Linked DNA regions of Homo sapiens: region 2 is linked to region 1. Evidence: promoter capture Hi-C in 16 types of primary human blood cells and fetal thymus (Javierre and others, 2016). All regions are on one chromosome and are shown on one strand. The core of a region is centred on a gene start or on the middle of the fragment in contact, and the rest is flanking DNA. Distances in the headings are between cores, read along the strand shown. Region 1 holds the start of CD48 (CD48 molecule). Region 2 overlaps SLAMF1 (signaling lymphocytic activation molecule family member 1).

The links. Contacts are between HindIII fragments. The CHiCAGO score rates a contact against its expected background, and 5 or more counts as called.
Region 2: a contact is called between a fragment that was not itself captured here and the fragment with the promoter of CD48 in region 1, in 4 of 17 cell types (non-activated CD4 T cells, activated CD4 T cells, total CD4 T cells and 1 more). The highest score is 6.6, in non-activated CD4 T cells.

Annotation. Positions count from the first base shown.
Region 1 is chr1:160,709,550-160,715,383 of GRCh38, forward strand. CD48 (CD48 molecule) reads right to left here and starts at 2,273. Exons shown (of 4, transcript NM_001778.4): 1 at 2,133-2,273. The coding sequence starts at 2,214. RefSeq lists enhancers at 2,522-2,701, 3,242-3,301. The HindIII fragment of the contact is 2,140 bases long and covers 1,648-3,787 here.
Region 2 is chr1:160,605,140-160,611,196 of GRCh38, forward strand. It overlaps SLAMF1 (signaling lymphocytic activation molecule family member 1), which reads right to left. Exons shown (of 7, transcript NM_003037.5): 7 at 2,967-5,659. The coding sequence ends at 5,609. Among named protein-coding and RNA genes, the nearest start is that of CD84, 29 kb to the left of the region's middle. The HindIII fragment of the contact is 5,518 bases long and covers 721-6,057 here.

The sequences.
Region 1 (5,834 bases), core at 1,023-3,522:
TTGTGGACAGATGGGGAATTGGGTAGTTGTGGAGCATGCCCTAAATCATTGCCTTGAAACCAAAGAACTGAGAAACCCAAGTCTGAGGAGAGAAGGAAGAAGAGAGCTAAGAGTGCTTCTCAAAGTTTTCCACAGAAGCATCCCTTACGGCAGAGGAGAGAACTACTTGCACTTCTCAGGAAGATATGGATGTGTAGTCCAAAAGGAAGTTTTTTGAAGTTGTTCATTCATTTGTGTAACAATTATTTATTGAGCACATGCCACACTCCAGGCCTGTGCTAAGTTCAGCAGCACAACACTGCACATGGTTTCTGTCCTCAAAAAGTTCAAGGAAACAGATGATCCACCAAGCAATTCACAAACCATAATCTGGAGCCTGAGGTTCCCATCTAACCATGCCTTCAGAACACAGTCACAGGCAGACAGTCCAAGAAGAAGTCACATAAAAACAGAAGCCTAAAAGAGAGGCAGGGAGAGGGCAGGAGGGAGAGAAATCTAGGTGGAAAGAAGGCATGTACATAAGCCCAGAGGTAAGAGAAAACGCCTCTTTTAAGGCAAACAGTAAAATTAAGAGATTTAGACACATTGACCTTCACCAAGATTCCCTCGCCTTAGTCTAGGAAAGGTATAATCATAATAGAATGGTTTGGAAGTTAGACCTGTGTGCCCTTAGGAGAATTTCTTAATCTCTCTGCAAGACAGTATTCTCATCTGAAAAATGTAGATAATAATAGCCACCTCACTATTTTCTAATGAAAGTTAAATGAAAAAGTATGCAAAAGGCCTAGCACAATGTCTGACACACAGTAAGTGCTTAATTTGTATTTTACTAACCCAGGTTATAGCCCGGGTGTTATAACCCAGGTTTACTAACCTCATCAAAACCAATATTATCCATTCAAAGGATAACATAATCAGGTGTGGTCTGATTGTTTCAAAGAAGAATAAATGACCAAGATGAAGCCTAGAAAAGAAGTCAGAGAAAGGTCAACTGTCAGGATGTTTTCAGTATGCCTAGAGAAAGTCCTAAAATATTCCAATTCTCATTGGCAACCCTGCTTTTCCCAATAGTTAGATGAATACTTCACATCAGCCCCCAATCCCAAGGTCATACCAATGTCCTATGCATTGAGTCAGGCCCACAGAACCTATATAGCCGTAGACTCACACAGTCATGAACCAAAGGACTCTACCTGAGAGGTAGAATATGTGAGAGACCGATCCTCCACACATTCTACCTCATCTCCCCAAAAGTTACAAACTATCATCATTTTATGCCACAGTGTGACTACCACATGTTTGTTGATTTTTACTGTTTTACTCAGAGTGGTGAGCATTAAAGCCCTTTAAATTAAAAAGACTTGAGTATTTACTTGGGGGAATAGCAAGAAAGTCAAAGGTTTCACTGCTGTTTCTCAGCTGGCATAAGAAGAGAGGTACTGGATGAAGAAAGAGGGTGAGGCAGCTCTAACAGGAGAAGGAAAGTTAGCTCAGCCCTTGGTCACACACCGGGGACCGAACAGGCTGTGGCAGAGGAATGGACCTTAACTCTTAGCAATCAGATGTGTTAAGGTTCCTTTGATGCTGAAGCACTTCCAGCCTCTTCTCAGACCCTCATTCAGAGACCCCAGACAGCAATCCTTTCCAAGCTTTTCTTCCTATAATTTTGATCTATCTTTTCTTTGGGTCAATGACAATATCATTTACCTTGGCTCAGGATGCAACACCTCACATATACAGAGGTCTCAAAGAATGCCTAAGGGAGTACAGTGTGTCTGAGCATAAAATGCAGCAGCTGTCAGTGTAGAGCTTCTTCTTATTCAAAATGAAAAAACAAACACTTTTCCACAACTTCATGGACCACCAACCACGGGACAAAATATGAGGAGCCTACTTCTCTTGCTCCCCAGGTTCCTGTTTTGATCACATCCCCGTGGGAAAGGAGATGAAGCTCCATTCATCAGTGCTAAGAAAGGCTCCCCAACCATGCCATGGCCATGCTATTGGAATGGAAATACCTGCTTTCCAGACACCAGATCTGGCTTCTAGGGTTGAACTACATCCCGTCTCCCCTTTCCCAACTGACCATGCCTTCAGTGCACAATCACAGATACACAGTTGGTGGAAAGTACCTTGAATGCTGGTCACCAGGAGTGACAGAGGCAGCAGTAGCAATTCCAGAGCCAGACACGAATCCCAACCTCTGGAGCACATGCTTCCTTCCAGAACTTCCCAGCAACGCAGGAGACAGTTGAGAGCCTGGCTAGAAAAAGGCCGGGGCTAAAAACGGAACTTACCAAACAGGGTTAGAGAGAAAAAAAAAAAAACCACTGAGATTTTCTCTCCACCCAGCACACTTGTGTGGGGCCCCAGAAACCAGAAACCGGAGGTCTTGTAAATTTTTTTATCTAAGAGCATCACGGAAACTGAGAACAATTTTGTTTGAAGGTACATGAGTGCTTTTTTGTAGGGGGAAGATTCATAGCTTCTACTGTACTCTCAGGGGGGCCAGTACTCAGAAAAGAATAAGGGACCCTGATAGAGAATGTCTGCTTTTCGTTCCCAGGCAGGAATCCCTCTGATTAATTCAGGGGCTAAGACATAGGAGCTTCCCAGTCAAGCCTGGGTAGGTGTCATTCAGAGCCTGAAGTCTGGGAAATCAGACCCACGTAGCCTTTGTGCTGCATATCTTACCCCCAGCACCACCCTCTGCTCTTCTTCCTTTATGATAATTCACTATTTGAAGTTTGACATCAGCCTATCCACTGAACATCAGAAAAAAAGTAAGATTACTTGGCCCAAAAGAATGGATTTCCCACCCTTGTAGTCTGTATTAGTCTGTTCTCACACTGCTAATAAAGACATACCCCAGACTGGGTAATTTATAAAGGAAAGAGAGGGGTTTTGTTTTGTTTTGTTTGTTTTGGTTTTTTTTTTTTTTGAGATGCAGTCTCACTCTGTAGCCCAGACTGGAGTGCAGCAGTGCAATCTCAGCTCACTGCAACCTCCACCTGACAGGTTCAAGCAACTCTCCTGCCTCAGCCTCCTACATAGCTGGGATTACAGGCAAGCACCACCATGCCCAGCTAATTTTTGTATTTTTAGTAGGGTTTCACCATGTTGGCCCGGCTGGTCTTGAACTCCTGACCTCAAGTGATCCACCTGCCTCAGCCTCCCAAAGTGCTGGGATTATAGGCATGGGCCTGTGCCTGGCCAGGAAAGTGGTTAAATTGACTTCTAGTTCAGCATGGCTTGGGAAGCCTCAGGAAACCTACAATCATGGTGCAAGGGGAAGCCAATACGTCCTTCTTCACACGGTGGCAGGAAAGAGAAGCACTGAGCAGCAATGGGGAAAGCCCCTTCCTTATGAAACCATCAGATCTAGTGAGAACTCACTATCACGAGAACAGCATGATGGTAACTGCTCGTATGATTAACTTACTTCCTACTGGGTTGCTCCCATGATATGTGGGGATTATGGGAACTACAATTCAAGATGAGATTTGGAAGGGAACACAGCCAAATCATATCATGTCTAGGAAATTTCAAGCTCATTCCTATTGAATGTAAATTAGTTATTTGCCCACCCAGGACCCACAGGCAAGCCACAGTTCCTGATATAACATATTTGTAATCACTTTTTAATTGGGGACATTTCTGATTCTCAACATGGAGATGAACAATAAAATGTCTGCTCTTCTCAGTCCTCAAACCTGAAGGACATTATGTTAAGTGAAATAAGTCATGCACAGAAAGATAAAAAACCACGTTCCCAATCATATATGGAAGCTTAAAAAATGAGCTCATAGAAGTAGAGAGTAAAATTGTGGTTATCAGAGGCTGGGAAGGGTAGAGGGAAGTGGAGGATGGGAAGAAGTTGGTTAATAGATACAAAGTTACAGCTAGAGAAGAGGAATAAGTTCCAGCATCCTGTAGCACTATGGAGTGAATACAGTTAAGAATAATTTAATGTATATGTTCAAAAAGCTAGAAGAGAGGATTTGGAATGTTCCCAACACAAAGAAATGATCAATGTTTGAGGTGATAGGTATCCTAATTGCTTTGATTTGATCATCACACATTGAATACATGTATCAAAATATTACTCTGTATCCCATAAATATGTATAATTATTATATGTCAACTAAAAATAAAAGGGAAAAAAACATAAAAGTGAAAAGAAAGAACCCTGCAAATAAAATTTGAAACAGCACCAGAATCAAATTCCTCTTGGTCAAATTGTTACACTTTGGAACTGTGTGTTATATTTTTCCTATAAATTGATTTAACCTTAGGATACGACCCTGCTCCTTCAGCAAGAAAAGATAACATTGTATTAGATTTTTAAAAGAGACCCTGTAAATTAATGTTACATTCTCTTTTTTGGGGGGAGGGGGGCACAGGCTCCCACTCTGTCACCCAGTCTGGAGTACAGTGACCACTATGCATGGCTATTTTTTTAAAATTTTTTGTAGAGATGAGGTCTCACCATGTTGCCCAGGCCAGTCTTGAACTCCTGAGCCATAGGATCCACACTCAGTCAGTGGCAGGACGGGGAGTGCTGTGACCTGCTTCCACCTTGGGCACCAGTGTCTAAATGAAGGGAACACAGTGGCACTAAGAAACTCGGAGATGCCAGCAACTGCGGAGCCCTAAGGGGTGTTACAGCTTTGCTTGGGGAATCCCAAGGCCTGAGACCCCAAGAAATGTTACAGCTCTCTCTCTCGTTCCTGCCACCTGCAGCTCAGCAAATGAGGGCACCTCACAGCTCTTGTTCAGTCCCACTGCCTGCAGCTCAGCAAATGGGGGCATGTCACAGCTCTTATTTAGTCTTGCTGCCTGCAGTTCAGTGAATGGGGGTGTGTCACAGCTCTCACTTGGTCCCAGTGCCCACAGCTCAGCAAATACGGGTATGTTACAGCTTGTTCCTGCCACCTGCAGCTCAGCAAATGAGGGCACCTCACAGCTCTTGTTCAGTCCCACTGCCTGCAGCTCAGCAAATGGGGGCATGTCACAGCTCTTATTTAGTCTTGCTGCCTGCAGTTCAGTGAATGGGGGTGTGTCACAGCTCTCACTTGGTCCCAGTGCCCACAGCTCAGCAAATACGGGTATGTTACAGCTTGTTCCTGCCACCTGCAGCTCAGCAGGTCCTGGGTTCTTGTCCTGCAACCAAGAGGAATAAAGCATGCAGACAAAGGAGAGTGAGTAGGTCAGAGAATAATTTTATTGAGTGACAGAAGGAAAGCTCTCAGCAAAGAGGGGACCAGACAGTGGGTAGACCACTGTGTGAGAGGGGCCCCAAAACAGGTAGCCCTCTGTGAGGCTGAGTCTGGGGTTTTCATCGGCTCAGATTTGTCCATAGGCAGGCCTGGAAAAAGCACCATTCGATTAGCTAAAAGGTATCAAGGAAGTTCTCACTCTGGTTGTGGACTCTACCCAGAACTGGCAGCCCAGTTTTCAGGCTTTAAACTGTCTTTGTCTTGAAAGTCTAGTTTCACCAGGGACCCTTTTCTATCTGTCCAGGAATTTGTCTGTCTCCTGTCGCTATCACTTTGGGAGGCCGAGGAGGGCAGATTGCCTGAGCTCAGGAGTTTGAGAGCAGCCTGGGCAACATGGCAAAACCCCATCTCTACTAAAAGTAAAAATAAAAATAAATGTTAAAATACCTCCTTTGAATGTTGTTGTGAAAAGTTGAAGAAAGGAAAGAACTTTTATCTGAAGAATGTGAGTCCTTCAAATTATCAGAGAGACATTTAAATGAGACAGAAATCACATTTTACTTCCCCCTACTCCACCTTTGGGCTATGTATTCACCTCTTAAAACTACTTGCTAT
Region 2 (6,057 bases), core at 2,230-4,729, 100 kb before region 1:
AATAATCAACCTTCTGAATTCTTTTTCTGGCAATTCAGAGATTTCTTCTTGGTTTGAATCCATTACTGGTGAGCTAGTGTGATCTTTTGGTGGTGTGATAGAACTTTGTTTAATTATATTGCCAGAATTGTTTTTCTGGTTCTTTCTCATTTGGGTCAATTATGTCAGAGGAAAGGTCTAGGACTCAAGGGCTGCTGTTCAGATTCTTTTGTCCCACAGGGTGATCCTTTGATGTGGTGCTCTCCCCTTTCCCCTACAGATGGGGCTTCCCAAGAGCTGAACTGCAGTGATTGTTATTGCTTTTCTGGGTCTAGCCACCTAGTGGACCTACCAGGCTCCAGGCTGGTACTGGGGAGTGTCTGCAAAGAGTCCTGTGTTGTGATCTATTTTCAGGTCTCTCAACCACGGATACGAGCACCTACTCCAGTGAAGGTAGCAGGGCAGTGAAGTGGATTCTGTGAGAGTCCTTGGTTGTAGTTTTGTTTAGTGCACAGGTTTTCTCAAATGCTGGTTATGCTAACAGTGAAGTTGTCACATGGACAGACTCAGGACCTCTGGTTAGCCAGGACGTTACAAGTGGTGGAATTAGCTGTTGTTTTCTCCTTCCTTGGAGCAGGGCTATTTTGTTATGAGTTGCTATAATGGCTTGACTTGATTGGCCTCCAGCCAGAAGGTGGCGATTTCAAGAGAGCATCAGCTGCAGCAGTACGGGGGAATACAAGCTTGCCCTAAGGTCACCTGGATAAGTATTTGGGTTTCTCAGGTGATGGGAGGGCCATAGGGCTCCCACAAGATTATGTCTTTTGTCTTCAGCTACCAGGGCTGGCAGAAAAAGACCATCAGGTGGGGGCAGAGTTGAGCATGTCTGAGCTCAGACTATCCTTGGACAGGGCTTGCTGTGGCAACTGTGCGGTATGGGGGTGTGGTTCTCAGGCCAATGGAGTTATGTTCCCAGGGGGATTATGGCTGCCTCTGCTGCTTTGTACAGGTAGCCAGGGAAGTGGGGGAAAGCCAGTGGTGACAGGCCTCTCCCCACTCCCACACAGCCAGCAAGGCCAGTCTCACTCCTGCCATGCTCCCCAAAGAGCCAAATTTATATCCAAGCCTCTGGTATGCAGGGCTGGGATGTTGCCCTGGGATACTAGCCTCTCTGCTGAGAAGGCAAGCAGGGCTTTCAGGCCTCACCCCTCCCTGCCTGCTGTGGCTTCTGTGCTCATATCTGCACTTTCTATTCATCTCCACAGATCCTGACCAGGACAATTCGTACTCAGTCAAAATTATTACAAAGTTCAGCTGGAAGTTTCCTTCTCCCTGTGGCCCTTCCCCAATCCCACTGGCAGCCCTCCCCAAGGAACCCTGTGAGATAAAGTCAGAAATGACTTCCCTGGACTTCCTGGGGGACCAGGAGTGCCTGTAGGGCTCTTCCCACTGCTTCTTCTACTTTTGTATTTTGCTTGGCTCTCTAAATTCATTTCAGCTCTAGGTAAAGTTAAATTCTTCTCCTGTTATTTGGATTTTCAGGTTTCCCCAGTGAAGATGTGTGTTCAGAGGTAGACTTTCCCCCTCTCACACTTTAGGCACTCACAGTTTTTCAGCTATTTCACAGAGTTTGCAGTGGCAAGCCACTTCTTTCAAAGGGCTGGTGAATTCTTTCAGTTTTCCTGGTATGTTCCTGCAGCGGTTCTTGGAACAAAAGTTCATGATGTGAGTCTCCACACATCTGAGTGAGAGTTGCAAGTTAGTCCTGCCTCCTAGCTGCCATCCCCTGCCCCAGGGTAATTATTAATAGCATCTTCTTTTATTTTCCAATGGTTCTCAGTAGATCACATAGTGATCTACCTGTTATAATACTTCAATTGCCTGTGTTCTTTGTATCTCCTGCTGGATGACAAGCCAAACACTTAGTAGGAACTTAATAACTTTGTTGAATGAGTGAAGCATTGAGTAGAACTAGAAGTCTTCTGTGAAATAAACTTAGTACACTTAACCTTTTAGAGCCTTTCATCAATCCACATTAGCCTCCTTATCTCCTTTCAGCCTGTAAGAGCTGAGAAACCAGACACAGTTTCATCCAGTCTGTGACTAAGTCCACATCCTTTAGATACAAGGAAGTGGTGGGGATGCTAAGGTTGGGTGGATTGTGTTGCTATATCACCCTCTTGTGGCTGGTGTGTGAAACTCATCACGAAATCCTTTCTGTGGTATAAGTAGTTCTATAAATCTCAACCCAGATCTCATTTTGGTTTCAGGTTAGATTTGGTCATCATTATTTTTTAAAAAGTTTCCCGGGTAATTCTAATATTTAGGTAAACTTGGGTGTCACTGGCAGGTTTGGGCCATGCTTAAGTGACCAGGTGGCCACCTTTGACAGATCTACTTCTTGGTATATAGAAGCGTATTTAGTTTTCTCAGAGCTCACCAGGGGGCCAGCATATCTCTAGATCAGTGGTTCTCAACTGGGGGAGATTTTGCCAAGCAGGGGACATTTGGTAGTGTTTGGAGACACTTGATTGTCACAATCAAGGACAGGGCATGTGCCATACACCCAGTGGGCCGAGGCCAGGGATGCTGTTAAACACCCTACAGTGCACAGGACAGCCCCATGACAAAAAAATTATCCAGCCCCAAATGTCAATAGTGTGGCAGTTGAGAAACCCTGCTCTAGATTTTGTCCACAAGGGGAATTTGGCAGAGTTCAGGGAAGGGAATTACTCTGGCAGTGACAAAAATTAAACAATCCTTTCAACACAGTTCTCCATGTGGAGGGTGGTTCCTGACCTTTGGTGAAGGGGATGCCAAGCTAACCCTTGTCCACCTCCAGGAAAGGGACAACCTCACATCCTATCTGATCAAATCTGCCTCCTTCAGCATTTCATAACTATGGCATGGAGACATAAGGCCAGGAAACACATCATGCCATATTACTGTGTTATAAATCCTTTAGGAAACACAAGACAAAATTGCAATTTCCTTGATGGACTGGCTGTAATTTATTCATTTCCAAAAAGTAGAAACATAAACTTCAGAAGAAGAATCAATTCACAGTGGCTTCTCAGCCAGCACACACCACCCGCTGTAACAATCACATCCCCGCTGTGTGAATGGAGGAAGCGTCCTGAAGAGCCTGGGACTGTGCCCAGTTGTACTTCAGAACATCAGTCCCTTCAAACCGAGAATGGGTGTGTTCCTCCTGACTTCTCTAGAATTCAGACATGCTTGGTCAAAAGAAAACAGCATTAGAGGGGAAACACGGGGAAAACTTATTGTTTTAAGTCTGAGGAAAAGGCAAGCTCCCGCTCCCCATAGTGCCATTTGGGGGAAACTAGAGAGTTGTGAATGTATCACCAGAAGGGGTTGTTTTACCACGTGTAACCATGGTCTAGGGTGAGAGGCATAATGCCAGTGCTGTTTGGTGGGTGGCCCAAAAGACTCCCTCCCCAGTGAGGTCTTGAGCCCAGGGGTGCAGGATACTTGGAAGTGATAGCCTCTTCTTCACCCTTTGTTTCTGCCCTTCCTTCAGGTAGAATTCAGCTACTGGAAAAATCCAAGTGCTGGGAACTGAGCTTCTAGAGCAATCTGAGTTGTAGTAAAGGAATGGGTGCTCATAAGCCCGGGTTTACAAATCTTCATTAGTAGCTCCACAGTTTTGAGAGTAGACAGTGAATGAGGGTAAGGTTATACAAGGGTGGCGTAGTGGATAATTGTGAGGCTTTTTTGTCTGCCTACCACCTGAATCCCACTTCTATTATTTGTAGAATTCCTTAATTCATAAGAAGTGAAAGTGGAAAATGCCAGATATTCAATTCCCAGCCCCCCTTGGAGATAGGACATGGACATGTGACCTAGGATTGGCCACTCAATCCCAGACTTTGAATTATAAGCTAGAGATGAAAGGATGAAGAAGGGACCCTGGAGAATTCATTTTCATGGCAGACAGTGCAGCAGTAACAGTAATATCAAGTTTCCAAGTCCAGCAGAGACAGTGAGGCAGTGGTAGAGTCTGTGCCTAGTGCTGGGGACAGTGGCTGTGCATGAACAGGATCATCATCCCTGGGCTGGTTTTGTAATTTTGGCTGTGCTCCCAGCCACAGCCTAGTCTCTTCTTTTCCTGCTCACTTTCAAAGCATGGTTTTGCAGAAACTTCTAGCAGTTATTGGAACCAATCAGTATCTTTTCAATAGGTTCCTTTTCTACATAAAAAAGCCAAAGCCAGCTTCTGTTGATTGCAACTAAGAACTCTATTAAAGAAGCTGGTACCAGGAAACGAGATGCACTAAGCAACAGGCTTACAATGTGAATTGACCTCATAGAGGAGGTAAGATACAAGGCAATAAGGACCTGAGTTTTGAGCTGGGAAGTTGGTGCTCCTTATTATGCAATGGTATGATAGTGGCTGTTTCTTACAGTACTTACCAAGTTTATATAAGAAACAATAAGAAAAAGCAGGGCTTAAATTGAGGACAGCCTGTCTAAAAGCAGAGAATAGGAAAAAACAAAGGACTTTACTTAAAAAGTCTCTTTCTGCCTGCAGCTTGCAAAATAAGTTATTGAGCATTCAAAGATTTGAAGCTGTTAGACCAAAATAACTTAATTTTCTACTAGAGGATAAATTTAGTGTGAGGAGAGGTATGCAGGGAGTAGAAAGTGCCTAGGAAAGACCTTGACCTGCAATACCCCTTGAAGCCCTGGATATAAGAGGTTCAGAATCTGGTCACAGAGAGTCTTAGCTGAGGTTCCAGGTTTGTTGTTCAAGGGAATCAACAGAGAACTGGGATTTAAACATCATTTTGAGAAGTGAAAAATCACCATGGGACAAGTTCCTCTGAGTATTCCAAGCTCCTTTGTAACAGCACCATCAAACATTTGCTACGTTTTTCTTTAAAACTGAATGCCATTTGCACAGAACTGTACTTTTAAGGCTCTTACATGGTTTCCAGTCCACTGTTCAAAACTCAGAGATCTCAAAATCATTCTTTCTGTTTATTGACTTTTTAGCTTCTGGGTTTTGCAAATAAAATAATATTCTTAGCTTCCTTTATACAATAATATCAGAGTGTTTTATGTATAATAAGAAATTCACCCTTCAGCCTCTATTCACTCTTTATCCTGAGAGAGAAACTGAGGCACAGAGGCTTGATCAGGTCTGCAGGTTATCATGATCAGCTCCCAGAACAAAGTAAAGATAGCCAAAATGTAAACTTTTCCAGACTTTGTGACTGGTGGTCCAGTGTGTGAGATAGGTACTCAGATGTCCTGGCTTTCAGTCTGATTTTTATTATCCAGTTCCAGCCAAGAGCAAGATGCCCAAAGTCTGAACTCACATTACTGTCCATTTCATCTGCTACAACACAAAGATGGAACGCTGTTATCAAGTAACGCTCTGTTCTGCGCCTGCAGCCACTGCACAGCAAGCTAAATTCTTGGGAAGCCTCACTTCCTTGTTCATTTCACAGATGTATGTGGAAGAAACATCACCAGGGAGTTGATCTGAGAAGGGTACAGACGTGCAGCATGTCTGCCAGAGGAAACTTGGGGCCTGTGGCCAAGTTCAGTGTTCATTTTGGTTTTTCCATTTTCCTTCAGAAAGTCCCTTTGTTGGTCTCTGGTGTCAGCTCTCTGGAAGTGTCACACTAGCATAGACTGTGATGGAATTTGTTTCCTGGGGACAAAGCAGAAGTCTGTGAGTAGAGGGACTGGATACTCACTTCACAGAATGCAAATGAAAACAGCACTGCTGAGGAAAAGGAAAGGGTCTTAGAGATCATGGCTTGTGCAGGGTCTGTCACAGACAGGGCCTTGCTGGGACAGCACTTGGGTTCCCACACTGCTTCTCCACCTGCAACAAGGGCCACAGCTCCCTTCCAAGCATAAGCATGCTATTATGGGGAGCATGATCTGAGGACCAGCACTCAGTGCCCTGTCTCCCTCTTTGCCCTCTCCCCTTCCATCCCCTTGTAAGGAAAACCATTTGTTTTGCTGTTACATATGGGTCACAATCTGGGAAGCCAAGAGAGTTGTAAATTATTGAGTTTTTAAAAAGTCTAGTGGGACTCAAAG